Linked DNA regions of Homo sapiens: regions 1, 2, 3, 4 and 5 are each linked to region 6. Evidence: promoter capture Hi-C in 16 types of primary human blood cells and fetal thymus (Javierre and others, 2016). All regions are on one chromosome and are shown on one strand. Each heading gives the region's core, a stretch centred on a gene start or on the middle of the fragment in contact. The rest is flanking DNA. Distances are from core to core; before and after follow the strand shown. Region 1 has its middle 14 kb from the start of ADGRV1. Region 2 overlaps LYSMD3 (LysM domain containing 3). Region 3 has its middle 190 kb from the start of HAPLN1. Region 4 has its middle 27 kb from the start of HAPLN1. Region 5 overlaps POLR3G (RNA polymerase III subunit G). Region 6 holds the start of CCNH (cyclin H).

The links. Contacts are between HindIII fragments. The CHiCAGO score rates a contact against its expected background, and 5 or more counts as called.
Region 1: a fragment that was not itself captured here is called in contact with the fragment with the promoter of CCNH in region 6 in 2 of 17 cell types (naive B cells and total B cells); the score reaches 7.3 in naive B cells.
Region 2: a fragment that was not itself captured here is called in contact with the fragment with the promoter of CCNH in region 6 in 7 of 17 cell types (neutrophils, total B cells, non-activated CD4 T cells and 4 more); the score reaches 12.5 in neutrophils.
Region 3: a fragment that was not itself captured here is called in contact with the fragment with the promoter of CCNH in region 6 in 1 of 17 cell types (M1 macrophages); the score reaches 6.4 in M1 macrophages.
Region 4: a contact is called between a fragment that was not itself captured here and the fragment with the promoter of CCNH in region 6, in 1 of 17 cell types (M0 macrophages). The highest score is 6.4, in M0 macrophages.
Region 5: a fragment that was not itself captured here is called in contact with the fragment with the promoter of CCNH in region 6 in 1 of 17 cell types (naive B cells); the score reaches 5.7 in naive B cells.

What each region holds. Positions count from the first base shown.
Region 1 is chr5:90,542,925-90,547,139 of GRCh38, reverse strand. No RefSeq gene overlaps it. Among named protein-coding and RNA genes, the nearest start is that of ADGRV1, 14 kb to the left of the region's middle. RefSeq lists an enhancer at 3,731-4,215. The HindIII fragment of the contact is 845 bases long and covers 1,562-2,406 here.
Region 2 is chr5:90,522,616-90,526,667 of GRCh38, reverse strand. LYSMD3 (LysM domain containing 3) reads left to right here. Exons shown (of 3, transcript NM_198273.2): 2 at 1,368-1,633. The coding sequence starts at 1,379. Among named protein-coding and RNA genes, the nearest start is that of LYSMD3, 4.9 kb to the left of the region's middle. RefSeq lists an enhancer at 1,901-2,402. The HindIII fragment of the contact is 1,833 bases long and covers 407-2,239 here.
Region 3 is chr5:83,911,912-83,916,237 of GRCh38, reverse strand. No RefSeq gene overlaps it. Among named protein-coding and RNA genes, the nearest start is that of HAPLN1, 190 kb to the right of the region's middle. The HindIII fragment of the contact is 1,053 bases long and covers 2,109-3,161 here.
Region 4 is chr5:83,745,972-83,750,440 of GRCh38, reverse strand. It overlaps the pseudogene RPL13AP14. Among named protein-coding and RNA genes, the nearest start is that of HAPLN1, 27 kb to the right of the region's middle. The HindIII fragment of the contact is 1,315 bases long and covers 631-1,945 here.
Region 5 is chr5:90,478,356-90,482,856 of GRCh38, reverse strand. All of the region lies in intron 1 of POLR3G (RNA polymerase III subunit G), which reads right to left. Among named protein-coding and RNA genes, the nearest start is that of POLR3G, 5.7 kb to the right of the region's middle. The HindIII fragment of the contact is 4,983 bases long and covers 1-3,762 here.
Region 6 is chr5:87,410,386-87,414,348 of GRCh38, reverse strand. It overlaps CCNH (cyclin H), which reads left to right and starts at 1,419. Exons shown (of 9, transcript NM_001239.4): 1 at 1,419-1,671; 2 at 3,003-3,125. The coding sequence starts at 1,555. It overlaps LOC105379066 (a long non-coding RNA gene), which reads right to left and starts at 1,367. Exons shown (of 3, transcript XR_948543.1): 1 at 1,288-1,367. RefSeq lists enhancers at 1,463-1,632, 1,663-1,792. The HindIII fragment of the contact is 6,680 bases long and covers 1-2,658 here.

The DNA.
Region 1 (4,215 bases), core at 735-3,234, 3.1 Mb before region 6:
TGTCTGGAGATTGTGCAAGGTCTTGCAAAGTTTACATCTTATGTGTGGATGCCTGGTCCACTTGACACAAACATCTCTGCCAACAGTTTTAGACTTGAAGTTAGGAGTGCTCTACCTTTCAAATCATATTGAAATGCATATACATATTCTACAAAGATTTAATACTTTGTGACTTGTAAATGTCAGGTCATATCAGAAAACTTACACTGAAATTGTCTCACTTTTCAGAAAACAAAAATTCTTTTCAAGTTTTCTTTTTTTTTTTTTTGTAGGGTTCTGAAAAAAGGTTGAGATTGTGTTTCAAAGAGTACCATGAAGAAACACACAGTTTTAGCATTGCATTAGAGCAATCTCACATGGAATATTCCCAAACAAAACGGAGTTCTCTAATACTCCTTAGTTCTTTCCTTTTCTGTCTTTCTTTTCTTTTCTTCCAAAAGCAAGGAAGTGAATTGTGAATATTTCTTACAAGAAATGCTGAGCTAGTTAATTTCTGATAATTATAAAAGCATGGGTGGCCACTAGTTCAAAGAAAATCTTTCCCAGATAAAACCAATTATGAGCAGAGACTTTAACTGTGTCCCTTTATCCACTGCCAAAATGCAGTATCAATAGGACAGAATGTGAAAGCGGCAGCTTTCATATGAAAGGTACTGAAAGTATTCATCTTTTGGTAGTAGTTCTGCCACCACATGGAATTGAATAAAAGGAAAGAGAATTATGCGCATCAAGTTGAATTATGCAACTGGAGAGCAAGAAAGGCAAATCATAACCAGATGTGTATATGCCTTTTTTTTTATTCTTAAATTTTAATTGATATCACCACACAGCCAACGCACTCTACTGGCATTATGAAGTAATTAAAAATAATACAAAAGAAAAATTGACTAACATATATTATCATTTAAGTAGAAAAGTATTTACAGCAGAGAAATACTATCAGAAATGTCTTTAAAACATCAGTATTAGGCTGAACCACATGCAATTGATATTTTCTTATGTTAAAATGTTCAATATTACCAGAATTGTTGAATAAGAGCAATTTCATATGGTTCAACCTAATATATAATTTTCTTCCTATTTTAAAACGGCAGCCTATTTTGTTCTTTGTCATCATCACTCAATGGAACAAAATACATTGACTTAATTTTATTTTATTTATTTAAGTTATTTAGCTTTTTTAGCCACCTCATATGGAATTCCATAAACACATGAATCAATTAATGTTTCTTTTTTCTACCTTTAAGAATTTTTTTAAAGTTGCATATACAAAAATATCTCATTACTCAGTCTGAGTCTATTCTCAGCTGTCATGGGGCACTTTAAGAGAAACGTTTATCTATTTGTGATGATGGTAAAAGGAGGATGCTCTTCCCCATTTGAAGAAGTGGATCAGCTCTGCTTTTATACCCTTCTACAAAATGCTGACGTAAGCAAAGTGACAGCCTTTCTCCCTTTGGTACCTTGAGGGGCCCAGAAGTAGGCATTTTTGGCTTATTGAGGGGATTGGAAGATCTTAGAGGGAGGACTAGGAGCTGTGGGAGTGGGGTTGATTGAAGCTTTACACTAATGGAACTAGAGGGCAAGAGCAAAGCCTATCTGTGGATGATCATCCCAGCTCTGATCAGAAACACCTCTAGGTGTTTAGAGAGAAAATTTAGTGCTAGAAATGAAGGTAAAGTTCAAAGATTAGAAGTTGGCTTATTTTAGGAACAGTGTTGAAAGGAAAGAAGAAGAAAGGGTGAAGAAGAGGAGCAGAATGGGACTGAGTTGAAAGAGAAAAAGAACTTGGCCACTGAGTGCTGCCTGTACAAGTGAGTTTAAAAATATAGCACTAGGGATGGGAGATGGAGAGCAGACAGTCGTCATCCATACTCCAGAGCTTAGCAGCTAGAGGAGAATCAATATCCAAACAAATGTTTAGCTATGCTCAGGACAACTGCAGTTGGCTCCCACTATAGGGGCAGAATTTCAGTGGCATTACTGAAAAAAATTCACATTCCCAGTGATAATCTACTACACTCAACAATTGGAAGTGTTCTATTTGCAGTTCACATAAAAGCAACACAGCACAAAACTCTGGACAATTTCTCAAGAGAAGAACTTTAATAACTCTTCCTAAATTAGAGTCAAAGGTCAGAGACAGTCTGGCAGTTACCAAGAAAACAGTTCTTTCCCAGAGTTCAGTATAAAACTAACCCAGTGTAGAAATACTAGAAAGCGGTTCAATATTTCAGTAGCCAATTTATCGTATTAACTAAATTCTGTTCCTTCTGACCACTTTCTCACCTTGCATTGTTATTCGTTCCTTTCTGTTCCAAGATGAAACCTTGAGTAGATCCCATTTGTCACATTCATTTTCAATTAACAAGTAGCCTTATTTCTCAGATAGCACAAAGCAAAGCTTAACCTCTCATTAAGCTTTGAGAGTTAGATCGTTGCCTGACCTAGGTTATAAAGCCTACAGTGGAAAAAGAGGGCATGCTTATCCTTTTTTTCAATTCCTCCCAACTGTACTACTTATCCCCTTTTGCTATGTTCTTTTATGGCTCTTCCAGGATTGGAAAGCAGGGAAAGGCATAAGGGATGTAAAAAAATGTTATTTCTTAATGAGTTCTTTGGCGCTGTCATCTGTGGGGACCCCAACATGGGCTAGGTCTTCCTGGGCAACCCATTTACAATTAACCCCCCAGTCTCTAACTTCTGGCAGTCCATCACAGATGCTTTCCACAGGGGTTCATTCATCCCTTCTGATGGGTCTTGTGAATGAGGTGCCTTAAGAAATTTAGACACATTTGTCCTATCCACAGCTGGCCCTCAGAACACCACACCTATCTCCTACAATTATTCTGCCTCCAGGGCAGGGTCAAACTCACTGTTGGACTTTCTCAAGATGAGTCAAGTAACAGTCACTCTGTCCCTCAAACTCCACATCAAATTCTCCAAGTGATCCTCTGATTGTCTGCCATTTTTACCTAGGGGTGGCAGAGGTAGATTGCACAGCACAATGACAACTCTAAGAGGATTCTTACTAAAGGCTTAAAGATCAATATTCTGGCCTCCACTTATATACCCTGGAGGTAGGTGATGAGCTAAGAATCACAGAGTCAGTTGTCTCTTTCTTCACAATGTAATTATTAGCTAATCTTGCAGAATCTGGAACAACTGTCTGAGTTCAGGACACTGTTCTGGGACCTCAGACAAGATACTTAATTTCTCAGTGTCCTTTTGTATAAAGTACTGAAATCTATAATAAATAAAAGCAATAGCTACAGTATAAATTTGTTTTAAAAATTAAATGCATAAAGTACATAGAACAGTGCTCGGTGTCCAATCATGAGGAAAACTGACATTATGTGCCTTCTGATATGATGCACAGAGAAGTATCCAACATCACCAATGTAGGGTTCTTGCCAAAAACCATTTAATCTCAATCTAATCATGAGGAAACAATGAATCAAATCTAAATTGAAGTGTAGTCTACGAAACAACTACAGCCTATATTTTTTAAAAATACCATCATCATGTCAGACCAAAAAATTGAGATGGGGAAAGAGAAGCTGGAAAACACTTCTGGATTAAAAGAAACTAAAGGAGCTTGACAACTAAATGCAATGCATAATCCTTGATTAAATCATGGACTGCATTTTAAAATTAACTATAAGCCAAAAATAAAAATCTAAGCCCCCTCAACCGATGGAATGGACCACCCCTTCCCTTGGTGAAGGGCATTCCAAAGTAAACCTAAAAAACTAGTTCAGGTCATTATGGGAAGGGAGGGTTGGACATGCCTCATTATACCCTCCTCCCTTGGGAATTCAGACACTTCTGACCAGCATTAACATTAAAACAGAGATCTTCAGACTGACCAAACTGACTCTTTGCGGCAATAAGATACATTGCAAAATGACAGATCCCAGGCCCTGAAAGAAATCAGAAGTATTTTACTCCCAAATATATTTCTTTGACATACTTTTAAATGGCCTTGAAAAGCTGTCTCTTGTGGGGTAAATTTACATTCTGTAGAGAATCCCATTCCCTTTCCAGTACTTTCCTGATGTAAGAGAGATTTACTGAGTCTGGCATCTTTGAAGGTCTGGTAAAAAACATTTACCGTCTATTCTCTCTTAAGCCTGCTACCTGGAGGCTTCATCTGAATAACAAAAACCTTGATCTCCATATCCCCTTATTGTATCCCAGATATTTCTTTTTATT
Region 2 (4,052 bases), core at 74-2,573, 3.1 Mb before region 6:
TCCCTCTCTTCATGTCTGAACCACCTTGAGTGCAAAGAATTTTATCTCCAAAGTGCTTCTTACTACTTCCCTCCATCTTTCCCAACAAGAACTGAAAGCAGTCTGCCCCTTCTTATGTGAATAATTAACACGAAGCCAAAACTGTGAATGTGGAATTAGTTTTTTAGGTTCTTGTGTTCCTAATTAAAGAGAGTAGATAGATCAACTTGATGATGGTGAGTTGAGAGTTAGTATGCAAGTAAACAAAAAGTATTCATTGATGCCTGTTTTTAACTTAGGTCAGCTCCCAGTCAGTCTTACAATGGTTTTTCTAAAGTATAAATGAACACAGTAACCTAAAATCTGTTCACAGTCTTTATGGACCATAAGTTGAATTTGATGAGGACTCTAAGTTGGCTAAAAAGCTTCCAGGGAAGAAAAATTCCTGCTTCCAGGGAAGCAAAATCATAACCTATATTGCAGGCATATCTGCACTAAATATAAATACCAAAGTCCAGGAGGAAGTAATACGAAAGATACTCCAATCCTGAATGAAGTTGAAATGCAGAACAAGCTGGAAAGTTTTGAATTCATGAAAGTATTATGTGTATATAAAACATGCTTTGATTCCATCAGAGCTATAAGTTATATAGTCACAAGTTTTTAAGACATAACACAATTATTTCTCTGATTTTCTTCACATACTCAGAATAAGGGGAATTTACGATTTTATATTTAATGTAATATTTTATAGTATTTAATTTTATAAGTTATATTTTTACCAAAAGAATTATAGCAATTTGCCTTTGTTAATATGTAATTACTCCACGTGTTTAGTGATATATGATCTAATAGAGGAGATTACCTCTTCTTCCCTTACCTTTGTCTCCACTGCCAAATACGTTTGTTCTACTTTAACAGTTGTAAAACCTGAACCTAGGCCAGGCGCAGTGGCTCACACCTGTAATCGTAGCACTTTGGGAGGCTGAAGTGGGCAGATCACCTGAGGTCAAGAGTTCGAGACCAGCCTGGCCAACATGGTGAAACCCTGTCTCTACTAAAAATACAAAAATTAGCTGGGCGTAGTGGTGGGCGCCTGTAATCCCAGCTACTCGGGAGACTGAAACAGGAGAATCACTTAAACCTGGGAGGCAAAGGTTGCAGTGAGCTGAGATCGCACTACTGCACTCCAGCCTGGGTGACAGAGTGAGACTCCATCTCAAAACAAAACAAAACAAAACAAAAAAACGAACTTAAACCTAAATGTTTAAATAACTAAAACCATTAAAACAAAAACAAAAGATTGTGTCCTGAATGTACGATGCATGCAAATCAGTCAGTTGGATCAGCTACATTCCAAAATTTTCTCTGCTTTTTTTTTCCTCCAGATTTTAACATTATGGCAGGGAGGCATCAGAATCGTAGTTTTCCTCTTCCAGGAGTTCAGTCAAGTGGTCAAGTACATGCATTTGGAAATTGTTCAGACAGTGATATTTTGGAGGAGGATGCTGAAGTGTATGAACTTCGATCCAGAGGAAAAGAGAAAGTCCGAAGAAGTACATCAAGAGATAGACTTGACGACATTATAGTATTAACAAAAGATATACAAGAAGGAGATACATTAAATGCAATAGCCCTTCAGTACTGTTGTACGGTAAGTTTTAATATTACATAATGCAATTCAGAAGAAATTATTTGTTTACGCACACTGAAATAAATTCTGTGTCCTTTTTTACCTTGTTTATTCCTTTCTCCATTTTTTGCTCTTATTTTTTGCATAGAAATCTGTGTCACATGGGCTGGGCGCGGTGGCTCACGCCTGTAATCCCAGCACTTTGGGAGGCCGAGGCGGGTGGATCACGAGGTCAGGAGCTTGAGACCATCCTAGCTAACACAGTGAAACCCCGTCTCTACTAAAAATACAAAAAAATTAGCCGGGCGTGTTGGCAGGCGCCTGTAGTCCCAGCTACTCTGGAGGCTGAGGCAGGAGAATGGCATGAACCTGGGAGGCGGAGCTTGCAGGAGCCGAGATCGCGCCACTGCACTCCAGCCTGGGCGACCGAGCGAGACTCCGTCTCCAAAAAAGGAAAGAAAAAAGAAATCTGTGTCACATTTGTAGATGTTTACTTTTTAAATATTTAACAAATACTTGAATTTCTGTGTATTTCCAAATCCACGAATTTCAGTATTGAAAAACACTCAACTATGTTATCTTCTTATTCAAATGGTAAGAAAATGTGGAAATGTGTAAGGAAAAGCTTTTCCCTGCCCCAATTTCTTGAGATAACCAGCATTAACACTTTGGCATGTAGGAATGCTTTACCTTTTTTTGTGCTCATAAGTATTTATTTATATATACATATTTGGGGAGTTAGTAATCTTTGTATTTTTAAAAGTGGATTATATTATGCATTTTACTCTGCAACTTGCATTTTTCATTCTTTAGTGTATCATGGACACCCTCATGACCATCCCTCAAAGCCTTATTAACTCATTATTTTAAATGGTTGTATAATGTCTGTAGTATTAACGTTCCAGTATTTTTAAGCCATTGCCCTATTAATTGATACTCAGGATTTTCTTGGTGTTTTACCTTGTGTGGCAAATATCATCACAACTATATCTTTAAATGGCACTGCCTTTACTTCTGTGGGATAGATCCTAAAAGTGGGATTGCCAGATAAGAGGAAAGGTGTATTTTTAATTTTAATAGATACTATACTCTATTTGGACCCATTTTCTCTCTGTGTCATTATGTCCATCTTGAGGCCTTAGCAGGATATTTTTATATCCACATTGATATGGAAACTGGTTAGAACATTTGTTTTCAAACTTTTTGTTCTCATACTCCCAATAGAATTTTGAAATATATGTACTATGTACCTCATTGCACATTTTTAAGTGAACTTCCTAAATTCTTCCTCATGACTTAACATAGTTACAAATGGTATAATTTTCAGAATGTTGTATTAACATTTAAAAATAAGACTGTTAGAGTGCTCTTTAAATGCATCCACAGAATTCTAAGTACCACCAGGATTTGCTACCTGAAATTTGTATTTTTAAAAAAAGTGGAAAGTGTGTGTATGAGAGCTCTTTTTTCAATAGCATGAGATTTTATATCATTCCTTTTTCTCATTAATATTTTCATCTTCCCCCCAAATTTTTCATGATGTAAAGTATTTTTATACTTGAAAAACCTTTTATTGATTACCTGTAATACTTCTCTGCAATAGGAACACACATGTCTATAAGTTTATATTATATAAATGTATTTATATTCTAAAAAAATTATGGTCATGAGGTTTTCTTCTACATTTGCAACTATTGCAATAATTCACATTTCTTATTACAATTCACAATTCATCAAAACATTTCAAATTTTGATATTAAAATTTAATAAAATATTTTATTAAAATGAATTTTTTGATGTGGTGTAAGAGCTGGGTAGTTTTTTCCTCCTACCTTGCTCATGTATGAAAACATCAATTCTTGCCATTATTAAATCAGAAAATATCTAAGTTTATTTCTAAATGCAAATAAACATGTGAGTAAATGTTTTGTAGAGAAATAAGACCATTGATAAATAAATTACAGAATATGTCATAGAAGGTAGATGGTGGAATACACTTCAAAATGAGACACAAGGCTAAAAAACATCAAGGTACAGATCCGAGAGGAGAGTTTGTGATTCAGTAGTTTTATAAGACATTAGCTTTCTTTTAATGAACCTAGAAAATTTTCTTAGGGAAATTTAACATACCATCTGAATAATTAAAAATAGGTCATATTTCCAATGAGGTGTAAAGATGTTTCAGGCATTCAACAGTGATGTGAAGAAGATTTCAAGGAGGAAATATGGTAAACAACAAAGGGAATTTTCATAGTTATTTCCGAAGTGAGTGGCACAGACTATTTGGGATGAAATGCTTTGAGACACTATGGAAAAGTTTGATCCATACAGTAAGAGAACAAATATTGTAAGGTTTTAACAGGAGTGATACAGAATGGAAAAGTTTGATCCATATAGTAAGAGAATACAATTATTGTAGAGTTTTAACAGGAGTGATACA
Region 3 (4,326 bases), core at 1,386-3,885, 3.5 Mb after region 6:
AAAAAGTATTATATCCCACATTAAGAAGTCAATACACTATTACAACAATATAACTATATGATTAAGTATTTCTTCCCATTCGATTATGCAACTCCCAATTATAAAAAGGAGACTGTTTTATTAGTATGTATACAGCATCAGTAAAACTGCTTAGATCAGTATTTTAGGTAGCACCTTAAATACCAGTGAGTATTTTTCTTCCATATCATACATGCTTACCACTTGTACATACAAATATTAAAATACAGTGATCTAAAGCCCCAATTTTATGAATATTTTAGCTTTCAAATAGCTAGTGGATGTTTTGTTGGTTTTCCAAATACAGACCCAAGACCACCCTCTTGCTTATTATTTTATTTTTCAATGTTTTTCACTTATCCAGTGAAGGAAAATAACAAACAATAATGAACTGATTAAAGTTTCCCACTGAGCAGTACAAGCTCAGTTTGAATCTCTAGTAAAAATTATTTTCCTTTCTTTTGTTTTTCCTTTACTTTCACAAACATTAAGGAATGTTTTAGGCTTTGCTAGTTGATTATTCAAAACCTACATTTGCCAACTGGTGTTTTTGTAACTTCAGGCTTAAGTGAAAATGAGACAAGAAATCTCAGTTGGATATTCCTATGTTGTTATTATATTTTTAACATAAATTATTGTTACTGAAGTTATGCACAAAGCCTAAACCATTAATTTTTAGTATTATAAAGTTGCTTTTAATGTTAGTTACCTTGTAAAATAATGTAATATGTCTATTTACCTAAAAAGTCTCCTTTTCTACAGCTGACATCAACTATTTAATTACATAATAAAACCCATTACCCCTGTGAAATGTTTTACCTCCAAAGAGATTGTACACGCTCTTAGACTATTTTTTTGGGGGTGGGGTCAGCAAAGACTGGCAGGAAGTCTTTTCCATACAATCAGAATTTTTTTTTTTTTTTGAGACTAGGTCTCACACTGTGACCTAGGTTGGAATGTAGTGGTATGATTACATCTCATTTCAGCCTCCACCACCTGGGCTCAAGCCCAATCTTCCCACCACAGTTTCCTAAGGAGCTGGGGCCACAGGCGTGCATCACCACTCCCAGCTAATTTAAAAATTTTTTTTTTCTTTTAGAGGTATTTTAGAGATAGGGTCTCACTATGTTGCCCATGCCAGTCTTGAGCTCCTGGGCTCAAACAATCCACCTGCCTCAGTCTCCCCAAATGTTGGGATTACAGGTGTGAGCCACCAAGCCAAGCCAATCAGAAAATATTTAATGAGCACTAATTACATGATAAGCAATGGGGTTTTTATAAAGAAAAAAATGTGATTAATGTCCTCAAGTGATCAACAGCTGGATGCAGGACTGCTTACATAATTTGCAGGCCCATTGCGAAATGAAAATTCAGGGCCCATTGTTCAAAAATTATGAAGAATTTCAGACACAACTGCAGAGCGTTAAACCAAGTGTGGGGTTCTTCTGAACAAGGAGTCCTGGGTAACTGCACAGGGTCACATGCCCTTGAAGCCCACCTTGGCTCAATGACTAAATAGCAACAAGGAGGAGATTTTCTAAGGGGATATCACCAAATAGGTATCAGAAAGATGACCTTTAAATCTCTGCCAAAGACAAAAGGAAATTTAAGATTCTAGGAAATCTGTGCAAGAAAAATGAAACAAATGCACATAATAAGATAAATATCAAAGCCAAAGATCTGTAATGAAATAGGAGCTATCTTAAGACAGCTGAAAGACAACCTTGCAAATACAGGTCTTCTGACGTTAAGTACCAAATAAACAATTTGTGGGGAAAAGCAGTAATAGATCAGAAAGAGGAAGGAACATTCTTGGCTGGAGTGGGCAGGAAATGCTTTCTGGAGTGAGTGAGACCTGGCCTTGCTCTTGACGGAGAAGTTAGATTTAGCAAAGCTCACGTTGATTTGACACATAACATGGCTTTTGTAATTGGCAATGATTTTTGTTTCCTAAATTAAAACACTTTATAAAATCCTTAAAATATTTGAAAAAGTCATAAGTCCATACGTCTCCAAGATAGAAATTTTAAAATATTAAACTATATGAAGTAAATATGAAGCAAAATTTTATCACGAGTTGCAGTGAAGCTTCTAATTATATAAACACTTCATAAAAAATAAGTGCATTATACCTAGAGGCTTAGCTTGAGCCAATAGATGCTTATAGAATTTTTCAGATCAAATTTACCAGTTCTTCTCTTTAGATATATAAAATACAAAATACAGATATCATTTGCTTTTTTCCCAGTATGTTCACCACTGTTTAATATTTATCAAGTAGAATTAGCATTGCATTCCATCTCCTGTCCTTTGAGTATACATTCTCCTAGATTTGTATATTTTTTTAAGTGAGAATCCTACCGAAACAAAACATCTGAAAATATCTAATGAAACTTTTCTTTTTCCAGCCAGCAATGCTAACACTCTCTGTAGGTGGTGCTGAATGCTTAAATAGTGGTGTGCCTTAAATGTTTAAAAATGGGCTTCAGGATGGTGTGTAGGAAATGGGGCAGAGTCCTAATTTTAGCATTTGCTGATATTTATGTTGTAAAAACTTCCACCAAAGAGTATAAGAGAAATCTCTCTTCTATCTTTGTAACTTGTCAGTACCTATAAAACCACTCTATTGTAAGATTTTAATTAAAAAATAAAATAAAAACCTCTTATGGCCAATTTCAAGCTATCAACTTGACATCACAGAGCATAGAGGTAAGATGGGCACAGATGAGCAAAATCAGCTCTTGGAATAGAGGAAAGAACTTAAATGATGAAGCAGGCCCAGAAGTATGTAAAAGGCATTGGTCCCAACACACTGCTAGGATGGATGCAGTAAGAGGAGACTGTAAACACTGGAGCCAAGGTAAGGTGCAGAGCCTGCAACTTATAGGGACATGGTGTAAAGGTTATCCCTGTCACTGTTGGTTCATTGGGATTCACAACTACAGAGTTTTCAGTTTTTCCTTAGAAGGACTTGGAGAATTCATCATGGAATTCTTCACCAGTCATCTCATCCAGAGCTTCCCCAGCTTCTCTAAAGTAAGAATCAGCCAAAGCATTTGCTAACAACAACAATAACAACAACAACAACAAAATTATTGGACCTCCAATCCAGAAATGCTGAATCAGTTTCCAGGGAAGAAGCTTGGAAACCCCAGAAAATTCTCATCACTAGGAAAGGTTGGAAAACACTGACCAGCTCAACCTCCTGGCAACAAAGGAATCTCCCTTACACCATGCACAACATGTAACCAGCCATGAGTTCTACGTTGGCCAAAAACCTGCCAGTGAAGATGGTCAGCAGCATATAACTGTGGACATACCTGGGTGAAATCCTTCCTTCACTGTTTGCCAGCCATGTGACTTTGAAAAATTCACTGAGCCTGTCTGAGTTTGGTTCCCCTTATCTGCAAAATGGAGGTAATAATTGCAACTTCATGGCATTGTTTTGCTGAGCAAACAAGATGCCATATGTAATGCACCTAGCACAGGGCTGGCACCAAAGCACCCAGCATATACCAGCTAATGCAATTTAGACAATGATTCTCAACCTTGCTGGCATGTACACATCACCTAAGAGGTTTTTAAAATCCCAAGGTCCTGGCTACATGCTAGCCCAAGTAAGTTAGAATCTCTGAGGATGAGATCCAGGCATCAATATTTTAAACTTCCCCAGGTTATTCCATGTGCAGCTAATATTAAGGAAAATTGAATAAGCAGCAAACAAATTTGAAAGGCTGCCCAACTCAGCAGCTGAAAAGCCATAATGATTACCTTGTATTTCCTTTGAAAGAGGCACAACTAAAACAATCATCATTGGTATCATCAAAGAGTATATTTTAAGCACCCACTGAGTGCAAGATAATAAAGTCCCTTTTCTGGAAGATCTTTGAAACACCAGGAAGCCTACTACACGGATATCCTCTTTGCTTAAGCTTCATGGGTATACCTTTTTCTTGTTTATAGTTTCAAGTTGTTAGATGACTTCTTGTCACATTTGTGTTGTCGATGGTGAGTTGCCAGCAGAGCGTCATCTCAGGAGAAATCACTGAATACAGCTTTGCTTGATGCAGGTAGCTAAAGGAAAGAGGGAAACATTCTGAATAATTAGAAGGAAAAAGGCAAGAACGGGATTCCCTAAGGAAAGAGCTCCTGTCAGAGCCAATGGAAGCAGATGCTCCAACAAAACGAGGCTCAAGAGGACAAAGCAGGAACCTTTTCCTGTGTGACAAGGAAAGGGTCAAGAGGACCAATTTCATTTAGAATAATTAACACCCAATAATTGATCAAAGGTATTATTACAATTTCACC
Region 4 (4,469 bases), core at 39-2,538, 3.7 Mb after region 6:
TAGCCCCTCAGCAGACTGGAAACTTATTGGATAAAGGCAATTAAGGAAATAACTGTGTAATCATTAGCTGATCATTAAGCTAACTTATCAATGACTTCGGTGGCTTATGATAGAGAATAGAGAGTAAGTCCAAGAAGGACATTCAACAAAAAAATAAGAACAACAACGATAAGAAACAGCAACAATGATCCAGCAAACGACCAATGACAGCAACAATAATCGTGTATGGTGATTTAGTTTCCAAAGATATCAAAGTATATTATTTAAAATATTTATTTTCCAACAAAAATTACAGGACACACAAAGAAACAGGAAAGTTTGGGTGTGGTAGTACAGTTCTGTAGTCTCAGCTACGTGACAGGCTGAAGCAGCAGGATTGTTTGAACTCAGGAGTTGAAGGCTGCAGAGAGCCATGATCATGCCACTACACTCTGGCCTGGGTGGCAAAGTGAGACCCTGTCAAAAAAAGAAAGAAGGAAGGAAGGAAGGAAAGGAAGGAAGGAAGGAAGGAAGGAAAGGAAGGAAGGAAAGGAAGGAAGAAAGAGGAAAGTATGCCTATAAATAGAGAAAAAGCCATCAATAGAAACTATCCATAACAAAGCATAGATGTTAGACTTATTAGACAAAGCTTTTAAATCAGCTATTATAAAAATGCATAAAATCTAAAGGAAGCCATATCTAAGGAATTGAAAAAAAAAGAACTGTAAACAATGTATCACCAAACAGAGAATATCAATAAAGAGATAGTAATTATTAAAAAGAACCAAAGATAAATTCTAGAGTTGAATAATACAACAACTAAAATAAAAAAATCATTCAAGGGACTTAACATTAGATTTGAGTTGGCAGAAGGAAGAATCAATGAACTGAAGATACGTCAATTGAGATTATTCAGTCAGAGGAACAGAAAAAGACATGAAGAAAAATTAGTAGAGCCTCAGAGAACTGTGAAACATCATCTACCATAACCACATTTTAAGAATGGGAGTTCAAAAGAAAAAAAGAGAGAGAGAAAGGAGCAAAAGGAATATTTGAAGAAATAATGGCCAAATATTTTATGGTCATATGTTAGATTATAAAACAAATTTGATGAGAAACATTAATCAAAATGTCCAGGAAGTTCAGCAAACTCTAGTAGGATAAACTCAAAAATGGCCATGATAATAGTCAAACTATCAAAAAACCAAAGATAAGAGAATATTTAGAGCAACTAGAGGAAAATTAATTGTCACCTACTAGGGATCTAAAATAAGTTTAACAACTGAATTCTCATCAGGAACCACGGAGATGAGAAGTAAGTAAGATGACATAGTCAAAGGGCTGAAAGAAAAAAAAGGTCAGCCAACAATCCCATATCCCTTAAAACTGACAGGGAAATTAAGATGTCCCTAGACAAACCAGATCTGAGAGAACTGTCACCAACATTCATGTCATGTAAGAAATAATATGCTGGGTGCAGTGGCTCACGCCTGTAATCCCAAAACTTTGTGAGGCTGAGGCAGGTGGATCACTTGAGGTCAGGAGTTTGAGACCATCCTGGCCAACATTGTGAAACCCCAACTCTACTAAAAATACAAAAAATTAGTTGGGCGTGGTGGCAGACACCTGTAATCCCAGCTACTTGGGAGGCTGAGGCAGCAGTGGAAGTTGCAATGAGCCAAAATCATGCCACTGCACTCCAGCCTGAGCAACAAGAGAGAGACTCTGTCTCAAAACAAAAAAGAAAGAAAGAAAGAAATAATAAAGGGAGTCATTCAGGTAACAATGACAGGATACCAGATGGAAATTCAAATCCACATTAAAAAAATAAAAAGATTAAGTAAAGGTAACTACATAAGTAAATATAAAGATAATATGAATGTATTTTTGTTTTTAACTCTCTCCTCCTATATGAGTTAAAAGATAACTGAATAAAGCAATAATCATAAAGCTATGTTGATAAGCTTATAATTCATAAAGATGCAATTCGTATAACAGTAATAGCAAAAAGGATTGGAGAGAGTGAATCTATTTTGGAGCAAAGTTTTTTTATACTATCCAAATTAATTTGATAGCGATCTAAACTAGACTGTTTTAAGTAAAGGTGTTAATTTGTAACTGTCTAGGCAAACATTAAGGAAATAACTAAAATGACATAAAGACTCAGCAAGGAAAAGAAAATGGTACACTAGAAAACATCTATTTAAAACAAAGGAAGGAAGAAATAAAAGGGTAGAGAAACAAAACTAAGACACATAGAATGCAAATAACAAAATGACCAGCATAAATCCTACTTTATCAGTAATTAAATAGGTTAAACACCCCAATCAAAAGGTAGAGATTAGAAGAGTAGATAAATGGCCTACCTATATGGAATACCTACAGAAACACACTTTATATTTAAATATACAAATAGATTGAAGTGAATTGATGTAAAAAATATATGTACCATGCAAACAGTAACTAAAAGAGAACTGGTGTGGCTATGCCAATATCAGACAAAATAGATTTTAAAACAAAATTTGTTACTAGAGAACAGGAGGGACATTTTATAATGTCAAAGAGTCAGTTGATAAGAAACACATAACAATTATAAATTTATAAGCACCTAAAAACAGTGTCCCAAAATAAATGAAGCAAAACTGACAAAATTAGAGGGAGAAACAGACAGTTCAACAATAAAACAGATGGAGACTTCAAGATACTACTTTCAAAGCATAGAATATCTAGCAGAAGTTCAACAAGGAAATAGAAAACTTTAATAACTACAAGCTAACCAGACCTAACAGACATCTATAAAACACTCCCCTAAGCAACGCATTCTTTTCAAATGCGCATTCTCCAGAATAGACCATATGCTGGACCACGAAACAAACCCCAGAACATTTGCTGGAATTAAAATTTTAAAATCATATTTTTTTAGCCATAATAGAATTAAATTAGAAATCAATAACAATGAAATTTAAGATATTCAAAAATGTGAAAATTCAACAACACTACTAAATAAGCAATGGGTCACAGATGAAATCACAAGGAAAATTTCACTGGAGAGGCATAAAGAAAAACACCGACACTACAGCTTATGTGACTCAGCTAATGCAAGTGCTTAGAGAGAAATTCTATGCTGTGAACACGTGTTAAAAAAAATAAATCATGGGAGGCCGAGACGGGTGGATCAGGAGGTCAGCAGATCGAGACCATTCCGGCTAAAACGGTGAAAGCCCGTCTCTACTGAAAAATACAAAAAATTAGCCGGGCGAGGTGGCGGGGGCCTGTAGTCCCAGCTACTCGGGAAGCTGAACGGCGTGAACCCAGGGGGCGGAGTCTTCAGTGAGCCGAGATCGCGCCACTGCACTCCAGCTTGGGTGACAGCGAGACTCCGTCTCAAAAATAAACAAATAAATAAATAAATAAATAACCAAGCTTTCACCTTAAGAAATTACAAAAAGACTTTCCCAAGCGGCTGCCGAAGATGGCGGAGGTGCAGGTCCTGGTGCTTGATGGTTGAGGCCATCTCCTGGGCCGCCTGGCGGCCATCGTGGCTAAACAGGTACTGCTGGGCCGGAAGGCGGTGGTCGTAAGCTGCGAAGGCATCAACATTTCTGGCAGTTTCTGCAGAAACAAGTTGAAGTACCTGGCTTTCCTCCACAAGCGGATGAACACCAACCCTTCTCGACGCCCCTACCACTTCCAGGTCCCCAGCCGCATCTTCTGGCGTACTGTGCAAGGCATGCTGCCCCACAAGACCAAGTGAGGCCAGGCTGCTCTGGACCGCCTCAAGGTGTTTGACGGCATCCCACCGCCCTAGGACAAGAAAAAGCAGATGGTGGTTCCTGCTGCCCTCAAGGTCATGCGTCTGAAGCCTACAAGAAAGTTTGCCTATCTGGGGCGCCTCACGAGGTTGGCTGGAAGTACCAGGCAGTGACAGCCACCCTGGAGGAAAAGAGGAAAGAGAAAGCCGAGATCCACTACCGGAAGAATAAACAGCTCATGAGGCTACAGAAACAGGCCGAGAAGAACATGAAGAAGAAAATTGACAAATACACAGAGGTCCTCAAGACCCAGGGACTCCTGAGCCCAATAAAGACTATTAATTCCTCAAAAAAAAAAAAAAATTACAAAAAGAACCGTAAACTCAAACTAAACAAAATAGAGAAAATAATAGAGGATAAAAATAAATGAAATAAAGGATAGAAAACATTAAAGAAAATCCAGATAATCAAAAGTTAATTATTTGAAAAGATCAACAAAATTGATAAACTTTTAGCTAGAATGACTAGTGTAAAAAGAAAGAAGATTCAAACGACTAAATTCAGTATGAGAGAATTATTAGCCTTACAGAAATAAAAGGAATTATGAAAGAATACTGACTAATATGGCAACAACTTAGATAATTTAAGTGTATAAATTCCTGGTAAGACAAAAATTACTGAAACTTACTCAAGAAGTAGGAGATCAGACTCAATCTATAGGAATTTAAATGACTAATT
Region 5 (4,501 bases), core at 22-2,521, 3.1 Mb before region 6:
AGATCAGAGATTTTAAAGTTAATTTGGTGGGTAGGGGGCCAGTGAACTGGAAGCGCAGATAGGTTGGCTCGGGGATGAAATCATAGGAAGTCAAAGCTGTTCTCTTCTGCTGAGTCAGTTCCTGGGTGGGGGCCACAAGATCAGAAGAGTCAGTTAATCGATCTGGGTAGTGCCCCCTGATCCATCAAGTGCAGGGTCTGCAAAATATCTCAAGCACTGATCTTTGGAGTGGTTTAGGGAGGGTCAGAATCTTGTAGCCTCCAGCTGCATGACTCCGAAACTATAATTTCTAATCTTGTGAATAATTTCTTAGTCCGACAATGGCAGTCTAGTCCCCAGGCAAGGAGGAGGTTTGTTTTGGGAAAGTCTGTTATCGTCTTTGTTTCAAACCATAAACTAATTTCCTCCCAAAGTTAGTTCAGCCTATGCCCAGGAATGAACAAGGACAGCTTAAAGGTTAGAAGCAAGATGGAGTCACAGTTAGGTTAGATCTCTTTCACTGTCTCAGTCATAATTTTGCAAAGGTGGTTTCACGCCCAAGAATGAACAAGGACAGTTCAGAGGTTAGAAGCAAGATGGGATCAATTAGGTCTGATATCTTTCACTGTCATAATTTTCTCAGTTATGACTTTTGCAAAGTTGGTTTCAATCCCTCCCTTTGGGTTTCATAGTTTTACATTATTCATTTCGTAAATTTATCCCTGCAGGCCTCCATATTTGAGTTTTCCTTCATAACTGCTTGAACACTAAAAGTTGATTTGTCATCTTTAATGTTGTCGTTTTAAACTACAAGTCTATGCCTTTTTTGGTTTACTAATACTTACATTTACTATACTTACATGCACAAAAGTCAGTATATTAAATCTCCATATACCCACTACTCAGCTTCAAAATTATCCGTATATGACTATTGTACTTTAACTATACTTTTCTACTCCCATGCTTCAGATTATTTTAAACTCTTCAGTATGTATCCTCTCTCAGAGTTAAGGGCTTTTAAAAAAATCACAATAACATTGCATCTACAATTTTAACAATAACTCTATACCATCATCTTATATAGAACTAACATTCACATTTCTTAGTTATCACATAAATGTTTTTACAGTTAATTTGTTCAAATCAAGATATAAAAAATACATGACATTTAACTTTCTTTTAAACTGTAATGGTTTTCCCATTTTTTTTTCTTTCTATTTGTCTAAGAAACTAGGTCAGTGCCCTATACAATGCTTCTTAAACTTTAGGTACAAGAGAATTACCTAGGAATCTTGTTAAAAGGCAGATTTTGAATCAGTTGGCTGCAGACAGAAACTGAGAATCTGAATTTTTATCAAGGTCTCAGGAGACATCAACTGGTTTGTAAACCATACTTTGAAAGTAGCAAAGCTATATAATTTCCCATATTCTGGATTTGACTGATTTATACCTGAGATGTGATTTAACATATTCCTGTATTCTCTGGGTGTATTTCCAATAAACAGGTAAACTAGAGGTTTAGATTTGGGTTTGATTTTTTTTTTTTTTTCAAGAATACTGAAAAGGGATGCTCTCTCTTTCCTTCTCTATTACATCAAGATGAACATAAAGTCTCCCTCTTGGTATTGATCAGGCTGGTCATGGGTTCAGGTGTTGGTCTATTTCATTAAGTATAAAGTGTCCATCAGTTTTCACCTAATGATTTTAGCAGTCACTGATGATCACAATCTAGATCAATTTTTCCATTATGAATTGCAAAATGGTGGTATACAAATTTTATCTTTCTTTCTGTTTTATTAATTGGAATTCCACCAGGGATCAATTTCTCTTATCTATTATTTAGTTACCTTGAAATAAAGTTCATACAGGAACTATATTTATTTTAATAGCCCAGCTTATTACATCTCTCTACATTAAAAAAGCAGGAAAATATCCAAATGGACTTGTTTCAATTGCTGAGTCACTAAAACATATGCTGAGCCTAGAGAAAGCGTATCTCCCAAGTATCAAAACTGCTGAGCAGAAGGGGTCACACCTTTCACTCTAAGAAACAACTGCAAGAGCCCACTAGGCCTACTCAAAACCACTGGGCTGCACTCCAGTCCAGGATTTGCCACTACTTAAAGATTAAAAACAATTCCAGGTAAAGTTTACCAGACTTTCCTCATCATGAAAATTAACTGGAGGACCTGCTAAACATAGAGTCCTAGGCTTTCTTCAAGCCCTCAAACCTACCATACCAGAATCTTTGGAGGTGGGCCCTGGAAAAGTTTGGAAAACTCACCCTAAAAAAAGAGGACACCAGCTAGCACTGCTTCATGGAACAGCTCTTGAAAAATAACAAACTCTATTGACTCTAAATTTCCATTTTTATCAAGCAATCTTTGGGTGTATGAATTGCTATCATTAGCGAAGGTACCACCCTTGCCAGAAAAACTTCCTAGCTTTTGACACATTTAATAATTATGTGGCATTCCAGCCTACAAACCCATCTCTTTAAGTTAGTTTTCATGAATCCATTACCCTGTACACAGAGGAGCTGATAAATTCATTTTCTTCTCCTGCAGAGCTCAGAGAGAGTCCCTGGATCCTGGTAAATGTATCATGAAAGAAACAGCCTACAAGTGAGACTGTGGTTGAGTTAACCACTGTCTCATTCCTTTTTCAATACACCAAACTCTAGAATAAAGGAGTTTTAGTGCTTTCTATATTTCCTCATGCTCCAAATGTTTCTCTACTTCATATGGCCCAATTTCATTGAGTCATTCATTCAACCAATATTGAGCATTCCAGGCACTGTGCTAGGAGCCAGAGAGCACTGATCAATCATATTCTTTCTAAATGTCACTTTCTTTGCAATTTCTCTACCATAATCCAGCTCAGTCCTTTTTCACCTCACTTCTGATTAACTGCAAACTTTGTGGTATCCCTTGTTCTTCCTGTTTAATTTATGGATCCACATTACTCATCCTAAAGCACAGTTTTGATTCTGCTACTCTCCTCATCTTCCCTCTTGGCTAACTGAATTAAATCCAAACTCCCTATTTACTCAGAGCCCTTTTAAGATGGTTGCACCCTATTCTCCTGACTCACTATAGTCATGTCTTGAATACCAGTCTTTCCACTGCAACTTACTCCCTCTGCCTCCCTGACTTGCTACATCCCTTTTCACCAAAAAAGCCAGTTTAAGTCCCTCAGCAACCACAACAACCACTTCATCCCACATTGCTCTTGGAAAGATCCTCCTGTTAAAACACAGATTAAAAAAAAAAAATTTCAGGTGATATATGTTGCCACACTTGTCAATTTTCAAAGAAATAGAATACCACTTTTGGGAAATTGATCTTTTCCAAAGGGGAGGAGTTTCACCTATGTTTTTCGTTTGTTGTTTGTTTGTTTTTTCCCGAGATGGACTCTTGCTCTGTCGCCCAGGCTGGAGTGCATTGGTGCGATCTCGGCTCACTGCAACCTCCGCCTCCCGGGTTCAAGCAATTCTCCTGCCTCAGCCTCCAGAGTAGCTGGGATTACTGGTGCCTGCCACCAAGCCCGGCTAATTTTTGTATTTTTAGTAAAGATGGGGGTTTCACCATGTTGGCAAGGCTGGTCTTGAACTTCTGACCTTAGGTGATGTGCCTGCCTCAGCCTCCCAAAGTGCTGGGATTACAGGCATGAGCCACCGCGCCTGGCTGTTTGTTGGTTCTGTGTTAAGCAGGGATTTTATCCTCCCTACTGTCTACCATAGTGCTTCCTATATAGCAACAGCTCCACAATTAATGTCAAGCTTACCCTATTTGTGCACTGTGATTTGATGAGCAAATCTACCCACAGAAGGACAATTCAGTCAGCCCATTATTAAGGCTTTTTTCCCCCTTTCTTTGAGTGGGACCTGGCTGCACATTGGAATCACTGAGAGAGGTTTTAAAGAAAAGAAAACCCAGGATTCACCCCAGAACAATAAAATCAGAAGCTCTGGAGGTACCATTTAAGCATCAGGACTTTTTAAAGCATCCCAGGAGATTACAGTGTGCAACCCAAATTAAGAACCACTGCATTTTTAGTAGAGACAGGGTTTCACCATGTTGGCCAGGATGGTCTTGATCTCTTGACCTCGTGATCTGCCCTCCTCGGCCTCCCAAAGTGCTGGGACTACAGGCTTAGCTGGACATGGTGGCACGCGCCTGTAGTCCCAGCTACTCGGGAGGCTGAGGCAGGAGAATCACTTGAACCCGGGAGGTGGAGGTTGCTTGCGCCGCTGCACTCCAGCCTAGGCGACAGAGTGAGGCTCCCTCTCAAAAAAAAAAAAAAAAAGAACCACGCAGATTAAACCTCCCATTTTACAGAAGAGGAAAGCAACACCCTAAGCGGTTACTTGATTACCTAAAGACGCAAAGCTAATTCCTAACAAAAGCAGGACTGCTTTACCTTTCCACTGTTCTTCCATTTGCATTACACTTCAGGAAGCATAGGTCTAGGCTGGTTAGAAGACTTTTTTAATCCCAGGGAGGTCTTTATTCAATGAAGT
Region 6 (3,963 bases), core at 170-2,669:
AAAAACAAAATGAAAAGAATTTATATGATATATATAACAGTCATGAGGCTAAGACTTTATATAGACATTTAATTATCTAGATCACTTATTTTCCTATCTTTTGTACCATTATGTTTTTCTCTTTTAAATTATTCTTTCCCCAACATGCAACATTTTAGGTTGTTCACAATTCATTGTAATCAATTTGCCATGCCCTTTGATCTTCTCTTTTTCTCTCTTTTCTTAGCCAATTTATGAGACCAGGTTAGCCACATATGTTGAGTGTGTGGCTCTCCAAAATTATATACCACAAATGGCATAAGTTTGAGGAATTCAGATAACTGTGGCAAACTCTAACCTCAGCTGTACCCAACAAAAATGAAAAAGAAAAGGCTTTCCCTTTCTTAAGCCCCTAAAAACATTTTAATAGAAAGCAGAGTTAAAGTCATCCTGCCACTTCTTCTTTTTACCTGTGTGGGCTTTTCAAGACCTAAATTCTCTAGGTCTCATCATCTTTCTCTTTCTTTTTATTTATTTATTTATTTTTTAGAAAAGCTATTTGCCATAGGGAAATCCATTTTTCGGATTGGATATATAATAAATACATGAGAGAATAAGGTATGCCTAAATGGGACAAACCAGAATCCATGTAAATTTTGAACCTCACCTGCAATTTTGAAAGTCCTATTAATTTAAAAAATAGTAAATACCTTAATTTTCATGATAGCTTACTGTAAGGCTCCCTAGAGGCAATGAAAATGGGAATCTCAATAAAACGAATACTACCATACATCCTGGCTTCAGAGATGAAAACAGAGGGAGAGGATTGGCTAGTTATCAACAGAAGGGTAAGGAAAAAAAGCACAGAGAAAGAACAGACAAGGCAACAAAAGTGGCAGAACTGTAAGGGCCAATACGCATCCACTGCTTCAAGTTTTTCAGCCATGTTCCATTCTCCGAGATTTCTGGTAGTGCTTCAAGAATACTGGTCTCCAAACTCTTCCTGAAAAGGGCTAGGAATGCTTCTGCCTGAAGATCTTACCTATTCTTTCTGGGCCCCGTGATCTCCCTACATGATTGATCAACCTACTATTTCAACTCTTTCAAGCCTTTTCACAAATGTCAACTTCAGTGAGGCCTCTATTTAAAAATGAGCACCCTACGAAATCCTTTCCTCATTTCTGATTATCCCCTGTGAATTTACATCTGCCTACTCCGTACCCTCAGTTTATGCCCCTTGAACACTCTTGCCGGGCGCTTCTCCTTTAAATCTTGCCTGGAAGGGGCGGAGCTATGTCCCAGACTCACCGAGAGGAGCGTTCTCTAGGCTCCGCCCACTTACGTCTCAGTGGGCGCCCTAACGAACCCGGGATACGGTCTGTTCCTAGTCCGCTCCGGAAATGCAACTGCGTACGGGCTGGCCGCGTAATCGTGACGACAGCGCGCCAGCGCCGGCTAGCCGGACGCCCTAGGCTTCCGCGAGATCTTCGGTGGGGGTACGGGTGTTTTACGCCAGGACGCTGATGCGTTTGGGTTCTCGTCTGCAGACCCTCTGGACCTGGTCACGATTCCATAATGTACCACAACAGTAGTCAGAAGCGGCACTGGACCTTCTCCAGCGAGGAGCAGCTGGCAAGACTGCGGGCTGACGCCAACCGCAAATTCAGATGCAAAGCCGTGGCCAACGGGAAGGTGAGGTTTTCCCAACGGTTGCCCAGTTGCCCGGTCACTAAATTCTGAGCAGCTGCGGGAGCTCTTCTGGCTCCCAGGACAATCTCGCTCCGTCGTTTCTCTGCCTCTGCGGCGCGGAGTGCGTTTTTCTATCAAAATAAGCGAGCACCTTGCCAGGTTCCGTGGGTACAAAGACGAACAACGCCATCCCCGTCGTCGAATGGCAGACAAGTAACCAGTCTTTGTAACGTAGTGAAGAAGAGAGTAAGTAGTGTGCTAAGGTAGTGCGTGGCAAGAGCCGTTCACTTGTCAAGAGATGATGTTGGGGAAGGTTTTTCCCAGTAGCCAATGCGGAGAAAATGGGAAAGGAAGTTCCAGGCAGTCAGAACCACCGTTCAGAGTGGGAGGGAGGTCAGAAGTTACAGAGATGGTGCGTGGACGTGTTTGTGGTCGTATGTGGCCGAAGTTGAGTACCTGTGCAGGAATGGCTGGGGAGGGTAGGAAGGGAACTTGTAAGTGGAAGTGAGGCGTTTAACATTTCCACTGAAAGGATGAGGAACCTTTGAAATATTTAAAATGGGAAGCTAACCTTATCAGATTTCCGTTCTGGAAACAGCGCTCTAGCAACCTCGTGGTGAATGGGTTGGATGAGGGAGGGAGACCAGAGACCAAGTACAAACCAAGTGACTGAAGATGGTTTGGACTATGGCCCGCTAGCCAAGTTCCTTCTGTTACAGCTCTCGGACTGGTTTAATCTTTCCTGCAAGCTCCACTCCAGCAAGTGTTCAGTGCCTCCAAATTACCGATACTGAGTTACTTTACTTTCTACCTTTAATTCACATCTATTTCATATCACTGATTTTAGCACCTGAATTAGTTTCCTAAGGGCTGCCTTAAAAAAATCACCACAAACTGGGTAGCTTAAAATAACAGAAATTTATTGAAACATTTGCTGTTTTTTTACAACTTGTGACGTAATGACTGACCGAGAAACGGATGTTGGAAGCTTTCCAATCATATTTTAAAAAGTCTGTCTACTTTTTAATTTATAAATAATGATATCACAACTGTGAGCATGTGCACACAGCCTGTCATGATTGTTTATACTTTAATGAAGCAAAGGTCTAGCTGACATTCCGAAAAGTCGTGAAATGATGGTACAGTTTTAGTTTATTAAATATTTTCCTACAGCTATTTTGTGTAATGATTAGCGAATCTATAAAGAAAATGAGGCGTGATATATACCCTTCGTTGGATATATAAACTAAATTTAATCTAGATAGAGAAAAATGTTTTACAATTGTTTAATTCATTGAATTCATTGAACTTGTGTTGTAATTGTTGATCTAAAGGTTCTTCCGAATGATCCAGTCTTTCTTGAGCCTCATGAAGAAATGACACTCTGCAAATACTATGAGAAAAGGTTATTGGAATTCTGTTCGGTGTTTAAGCCAGCAATGCCAAGATCTGTTGTGGTAAGTTACAGTGGTGATGAAATATAATGTCCTTTAGTTGGCTTGTGAAATTTGACCTCTTCTAAATTCCCTGTCCACTCAAGTCTTAAAAATTCACCTTAGTTACAATTAATTAGTTTTTGGCACATTATATATTTTTCAATACAGGCCTTAAATCATGAGTTGCTGTATCATATCTTCAAAAGTATTTCAAGTCTCACTTTGTGGTCAGAAAAAAATTTGAGGTCAGGTAATGTCATAAAGAAAGAAAAAAAATAAATTACTTTCCTCTAAGTTCTCAACTAATGAGCCATAGGACTGGGACTAGAACATAGACTACTGCTTTTCCAACTCTGTGACACCCAATAAATGTTTGAAATAATGCATTCATTCATCATTGGTAATCATATGCCCCAGCTGAAACTGATACCATAAGATTTTTTTAAGCCTTGATTAGTAGAAGCTGGAGTTTTATCTTTGGTGAAAAAGATTGCCTTATTGTTTCAGATGTATGGTTCTGAGGACCTATTTGTTTTTTGCTGGGGTGGGCAACCGTGAGGAGAAACAGGTAGCTGAGATTAAAAAGCAGAAAGATAAAAAAGGTAGAGTGGGAGGGTGTTCAAAATGTTGTTACGTTATTCTCTCACTGGTTTGTTGTGAAGACCAAATATAAAAGTATATCTTAAGTAAAAGTCTGTTAAGTTTTAAAGTTATACAGCGTGACTAGCTTACGACCCAGTAGAGAATAATTTTCTAGGAAATTATCTCCATTTTTATAGTTGAAAAAAAAATTGAAGTATGTTGAAAATATTAAGTCCATAGAATTTACAATTTTTTTTCATCTGAGATGTCAAAGATT